Linked DNA regions of Homo sapiens: region 2 is linked to region 1. Evidence: promoter capture Hi-C in 16 types of primary human blood cells and fetal thymus (Javierre and others, 2016). All regions are on one chromosome and are shown on one strand. Each heading gives the region's core, a stretch centred on a gene start or on the middle of the fragment in contact. The rest is flanking DNA. Distances are from core to core; before and after follow the strand shown.

What was found. The method cuts DNA at HindIII sites, captures the fragments that hold promoters and counts their contacts. A CHiCAGO score of 5 or more calls a contact.
Region 2: a contact is called between a fragment that was not itself captured here and the fragment with the promoter of CWF19L1 in region 1, in 2 of 17 cell types (M0 macrophages and M1 macrophages). The highest score is 6.0, in M0 macrophages.

What each region holds. Positions count from the first base shown.
Region 1 is chr10:100,265,995-100,269,305 of GRCh38, reverse strand. CWF19L1 (CWF19 like cell cycle control factor 1) reads left to right here and starts at 1,668. Exons shown (of 14, transcript NM_018294.6): 1 at 1,668-1,735. The coding sequence starts at 1,713. The HindIII fragment of the contact is 22,053 bases long and covers 1-3,311 here.
Region 2 is chr10:100,339,103-100,342,366 of GRCh38, reverse strand. No RefSeq gene overlaps it. Among named protein-coding and RNA genes, the nearest start is that of SCD, 6.5 kb to the left of the region's middle. RefSeq lists an enhancer at 2,882-2,951. The HindIII fragment of the contact is 806 bases long and covers 1,117-1,922 here.

The DNA of each region.
Region 1 (3,311 bases), core at 419-2,918:
GGGAGTACAGGCATACGGCCACCATGCCCAGCTAACTTTTTTTTTTTTCTTTTTAAATTTGTAGTAGAGACGAGGTCTGGCTATGTTGCCCAGGTTGGCCTTGAACTCCTGTTCTCAAGTGAACCTCCCGCCTCAGCCTCCCAAAGTGCTGGGATTACAGGCATGAGCCACTGTGCCTGGCCTGTAGTTCTTCTTTAATCTTATGTTTTATTAATTTTGAATTATTTAGATGCCCTTGATGAGTCTTCCTTTCCCCGCAGTCGTCAGGAACTCTCTCTTGTTTCCATTTCCTTACACACTTGTTTCCTACCACTTGGCCTGAACCCTTCAAAAAAGTCAATATTACAAAAACTAAAACCAAATAGGTAGGAGGGCTTTTGTAGATTAAAATAGAGACAGAACCAAATGCAAGTGTGAAACTTGATTGCATCTGAATCAAAACAAGCCCCAAATATAAAATCAGTTTGTAGGGAAATATGGAGAACTTTAAATATGGATGTATATTAGGTAATATTATTGAATAATTAATGTTAATTTTCTTAGCTGTGTTAATAGTATTACGGTTATGTAGGAGGATATCCTAATCTTAGGAGATAAATGGAGATGTATTCCTGTTGTCCGCACTTTATTTTATTTTATTTTTTGACACGGAGTCTCGCTCTGTCGCCCAGGCTGGAGTGAAGTGGCGCGATCTCGGCTCACTGCAACTTCCTCCTCCTGGGTTCAAGCGATTCCCCTGCCTCAGCCTCCCGAGTAACTGGGACTGCAGGTGCGTGCCACCACGCCCGGCTAATTTTTTGTATTTTTAGTAGAGAGGGGGTTTCACCGTGTTAGCCAGGATGGTCTGGATCTCCCAAAGTGCTGGGATTACAGGCGTGAGCCACTGCGCCCGGCCTGTACTTTACTTTCAAATGATTGAGTGAGAATGGAAGGGCTTGGGCACTTTGAGAGAAAGAGAACACAAGCAAATTTGCCAACATGCTGAGACTTACTGAATCAAGGTAATAGCCATTATTCTTTTAACTTTTTTTTTTTTAATTTGAGACGGAGTTTCGCTCTTGTTGTCCAGGCTGGAGTGCAATGGCGCGATCTTGACTCACTGCAACCCCCGCCTCCCTGGTTGAAGCAATTCTCCACCATGCCCGGCTAATTTTTGTATTTTTAGAAGAGACGGGGTTTCACCATGTTGCCCAGGCTGGTCTTGAACGCCCGACCTCAAGTGATCCGCCCGCCTCAGCCTTCCAAAGTGCTGGGATTATAGGCGTGAGCGTCCACGCCCGGCCTCTTAACTTTTTGATAGGTTAAAAACTTACAAAAAACGTGGATAGAGGGGGTCTGTCTTGCCCACTAGACCGATATGGTTAGGTTAGGTTAGGTTAGGTTAGGTTAGGTTAGAACCCGACATTGTGCTCTGTACTTCCTAGCCATTCATTCGCTTCAAGTGCTCTGAAATTTAATTTAAAAAATCATAGTTGGAATCCTTTCGGTCACTTTCTCTTTCTCCCTTCGTTCCTCCCTTTCCCTCTTGATTCTTCCTTGAGGCGCAAACACCTGAGAGAGGCTTCTGTCCCTCGGCGGTCTCCGTAAGTAAGTGAACCGTTATTGGCTGGAGGGCGCTGACGTCTGATTGTTGCGCGGTCGCATTTTTCCGGGGAGCGCGGATTCGCATTCCCAATTTTAGGTGGCAGTCGCAACCCATACTATTCGGACAGATGGCACAGAAACCGCTGCGCCTGTGAGTGACCGTGAATGGAAGCCTCTCTCCCTGTGTCTCTTTCGTGTGTGTAGGTGACGACACGGGCGGGAGTCTTTCCCATGACGGGAAGGGAGAAGGAAAAGGCGGAGAGACACGGGGCTGCTGGGGAGCTTAGGTGATGTCTTTGCCTGGCCGGGGCTGACCTCTTTTCCTGGCCCTTTTCGCTTCTGAGGGGGTTTCTCTTGGCGACGCTCGTTCGGAGAGGCGGAAGCTCCCAGAGTTAGGCCTCCTCCATCTTAGGGGGCAGTCCTGGCCTCTGACACATCCTTTCCCCTTCGTTTCTCCTGACCCCATTTATTTACTCGCCAAATAGCCATTGGGCCCACTGATGGGCCCTGGGCAGTGGTGGACAGAGTAGATAGGGACCCTTCCCTGGGGCATTTTTTTTTTTTTTTTTTTTTTGCGAGGAGGAGGGGTGGGGGTGGTGGTGAAGAGAGGGCTTCATGCAGCAAGTATTTATTGAAGAACTGCAGTGTGCCGGACGCTGTGCTAGGTGTTGCAACAGATGGAGTTCCTGCTTTAATGGAGCGTAGAGTCTAGAGGAACAGGTACTAAAGAATCCAGATAATGGGCCGGGCGCGGTGGCTGAGGCAGGAGAATCGCTTGAACCCGGGAGGCGGAGGTTGCTGTGAGCCGAGATCGCGCCACTGCACTCCAGCCTGGGCGACAGAACGAGACTCTCAAAACAAAACAAAACAAAACAAAACAAACAAAAAACAATACAAATAATGGCCGGGCGCGGTGGCTCACGCCTGTAATCCTAGCACTTTGGGAGGCTGAGGCGGGCGGATCACTTGCGGTCAGGAGTTCGAGACCAGCCTGGCCAACGTGGTGACACCCCGTCTCTACTAATACAAAAAAAAAAAATTAGCCAGGCGTGGTGGCGCGTGCCTGTAATCCCAGCTACTTGGGAGGCTGAGGCAGGAGAATCGCTTGAACCCGGAGGCGGAGGTTGCACAGTGAGCCGACACTGCACCTCTGCACTCCAGCCTAGGTAACAGAGTGAGACTCCGTCTAAAAAAAAAGGAATTCAGATAAATGTAAAGTTACCATAGTGATAGGGCCAGGCGCAGTGGCTCACGCCTATAATCCCAGCGACTCCGGAGGCCAAGGCAAGAGAATCACTTGAGTCCAGGAATTCAAGACCAGCCTGGGCAATATAGCAAGGCCCCGTTTCTACAAAAAATACAGAAAAAAAAAAAAATTAGCCGGGCGTGGTGGTCCCAGCTAATTGGGAGGCTGAAGCAGGTGGACCACCTGAGCCTGGGGAGGTCGATGCTGCAGTGAGCTGTGATCGTGCTGCTGATCTCCAGGCTGGGTGACAGATTGAAACCCTGTCTCAAAAAAAAAAAAAAAAAAATTGCAATAGTGGTAACTTTTGGGAAGAAAATATTCGTGAATCTGGGAGAGTGCATAAGAGGGGTATTTGGCTTAATGATAGGAGTCAAGAAGGCTTCCCGAGAATGTTAGGATTGAGCCTTGGGAAATAAGAGTAATCCATTGCTTAACAGCAGGGTTATGTTCTGAGAAATGAGTTGGTAGGCGATTTCGTCAT
Region 2 (3,264 bases), core at 270-2,769, 73 kb before region 1:
ATCAGATAGTGCGTGTGACTGGAAGCAGTTTATGTCTCAGGGCAGAATGTGTGAGATGGGTACTGACAGTCCCAGCAGATGAGGCCTGGGGACAAATGTCTTAGGACCAGGACCAGGGCCAGAGATTTCTGCAGTGGTCTGACCTTACAAAGATGCCTTTTCCCAGGCCACAGACTACTCCCTCCCTCCTCTGGAGGCCCATAGGGGATCTTTCCCCAGCCTGGAAGGCTACCCCATTCTGAGCAAGCCATCTAGGATGAACACATGGAGAGGAAAAGCAAACACAGGCCTAGGGCCTCCAACAACAAATAAACAAGCTGAAGGGAAAGTCTCTCTTGCCCTGACTCAGCTTCTGAGCCAAAGTAAAGAGAGAAGAGCAGCTTGCCCCCGCGTTTTTTCTTTCTTTCTTTCTTTTTTTTCTTTTTGAGACGGAGTCTTGCTCTGTTGTCAGGTTGGAGTGCAGTGGTACAGTCTTGGCTCACTGCAACTTCTGCCTCCCAGAATCAAGCAATTCTCCTGCCTCAGCCTCCCAAGTAGCTGGGATTACAGGTGCATGCCACCCCTCCTGGCTAACTTTTGTATTTTTAGTAGAGATGGGGTTTCACCATACTGGCCAGGCCAGTCTCGAACTCCTGACCTCGTGATCTACCCGCCTCAGCCCCCCAAAGTGTTGGGATTACAGGCATGAGCCACCGTGCCCGGCTCCTGTGTTGCCTTCCTGGTCGTAGAGAGGTAAATCCCCATTTGCTTCCTGCAGTTGCTAAGAGTGCTCCCAGGAAGGTCACACTCTCTTCCAGAGTTCTGAACCCATGCCTCTCTCCCTGCTGTAGGTGAAAGGAACAGGCAGGCCCTGGCCATTCCTGGCCCTTCACCCCTTTTGCTTCTCTCCTCCCAACTGCCCCTCCCAAGCTGCTGCTTCCCCTACAAGGGAACTGTTTCCTGAGTCCTTCTAGCCTCGTGCCCCAGCCAGCCATCTCTCTCCTGGCCTTCCCTTTGCCTGACAGTAACCTCTCCCACAGCTGATGTCACCCTGGCTTTGCACTGACACAGCAGCTGAGCTGGGCACAGCAGGGCTGCGAGGTCCAGAGGGCAGCTGGCTATGTCTGAGGCCAAGCTTCCCTCAGTGCTCGCCCAGGGCTTTTCCTCAGCCAAGAGCCTGCTTCTCTCCCATTCTGTGCCTCTAAGCCAACGTAGCCACATGGGGATAGAGTGTTGACTGAGCCTCCCCTGTGCCCAGCGGAAAGTCAATTCTCTGCTGTGTGGGGGAGAATGGAGCCAAAGTTCTGCTCCCACCCCTGGGGAGCTCACAGATTTCTAAGAGAAACAGGACAAAGCACAATAGCAAACTGGGCAGGCTAGCATCTGATGAAGGCAGAGTGTAAACATACTATATTAAACAGGGTCGGAGTTCAGGGAAGAGAGAGGGGCGCCCTTCCTAAGAGGTGCCCCTAGAATCGGGTAGGGGAAGAGAATGGGCTGGTGACAGAGTCATTTAGTGTTTTTTTAAAATTTATTTTTATTTATTTAAGCATCTATTTATGTGCACTGTGCTAGGTGCTTTGATAATCTACTAATATTTACCCACATATTTACCTGTATTTTGCAAGGCTCAGAAAAGTTGTACCAGCCTGGGAGCACTGAGGTGGGGGATGTGATGGGGATTTGTCTGTACCTAACATCTGCTAGGTGCGTACTAGGTACTTCATATGTTTTGTCTAGTAACTCATTCTTTCCAGCCACAGAACAAACATGCTGAGCAGAAAGTCAGAAGGACACTTGCTGGGCGCTGCTTCTCCCCTGCCCTGCCACCACTCACCACTTCCCCCGTGATCACATTCCCTGCTGCATAAACCCTAGTACCTAGGAGGCCTGGCCTCTGGGCAAGTTACATTCTGGAAGGCTCCCCAGGTCGGCTAAAAGCTTGATCTTTCTACTCCAGCCCCCAACTCCACCTTTCTTCCCCATCTCTCCCTACCCAAGAGAGAAAGGGAAAATCCCATGCTAGCCCTCAGCTTTACCTTCAGCATCTAAGGTGTAAATTAATGTAATCAAGGTGAATTTCCATGCTGTTATTCTGCTCCTCCCACACCCGGGGTTGGCTGGATTCCCTTTTAAAGGCCAGAGTTATTCCCTTCTCATGTCCTAAGGGACTCTGGATTTGCAATGTCATCTGGCCCAGATACGTTCTTGCAGAATATTTGGTGTCCCCATGTCCTCCTTTCAGGCAGCAGCCCAGAAAGCCAACTACCTTTATCCCATCCTTCCTAAGCCTGCAGTTGAGGACCAGCCAGGGAGATGGAGGAGCGAAGCCTGGAGCCCCAGGCACTGCAGGCCCCTCAGCCCTACCTCAGTTCCTGCAGCCTCAACAGCACTGAGAACCCCAAAGGGGGCTGTGGACCCTGTTGTTCCCAAGAACACGCCAAGAACCCATCATTCTTTCCCTCTAACATTCACTTTACCAAACCTCTGCTTTCCCCAGCCAAGTGTCAATGTCTTTTTTCTGATCCCCAAGAGCTGCTTGGCTCTCTGAGCCACCTGGCAAAGCTATGGCTGCCTATCGCATAGTTCAGGGAGGTCTATGAGGCTCAGCTGAGTCTGGGACCTCACCACCAACTCTGGCACCAGAGGATAGATGGTCACTTGAGAAACAGGGACCCCAGGAAAGGGATGGGGCCTGGTGCTGGCCAGCTAGCTTCCAGCCAGGGCAGGCTGACACCTGGGATCCGGGCTGAAGCCACCATTCAGGTAATACCATTACCTCCTTCATGTTTTAGGGCTTCTAAGCAAGAAGCAGCCAAAGGCAGAGGAATGGAAATGTAGGGCTTGCTTGGGAGGGTGAGTGTGCCTGAACGCTTCCAGGAGCAGGCACAGAGTCTCATCCAGGGCATGGGAGGAGCCATGATGGAGGGTGGGGTCATGGGGAGAAGGAAATGAAATTGGGAAGTGAAATCAGCACATGAGGTGAGAGATGAAGGTTCAGTTGTCTCCCTGAGAGGTGGAGAGCAGATGTGGCACTTGATAGAAACCCCGGAGGGCTGAGGCTGTCATTTCTCCAAAGGAAGGCATGGAGGCAGTGCGAATGGGCCTCAGAGACCGCAGACTACAGGTAGGGCGGCTGACCAAGATGTTCACCTGGGTCATACTGCCCCAGGCCTGCTCCCACCTAGAGCAGCCTCACCAGTAGCTAAGTGTGGCAGGGATGTGAAGGCAAGCCCATTCTTGGGGGACACAGAACTCCCGATGGCCTGTTGTGGCTCCCAGAAG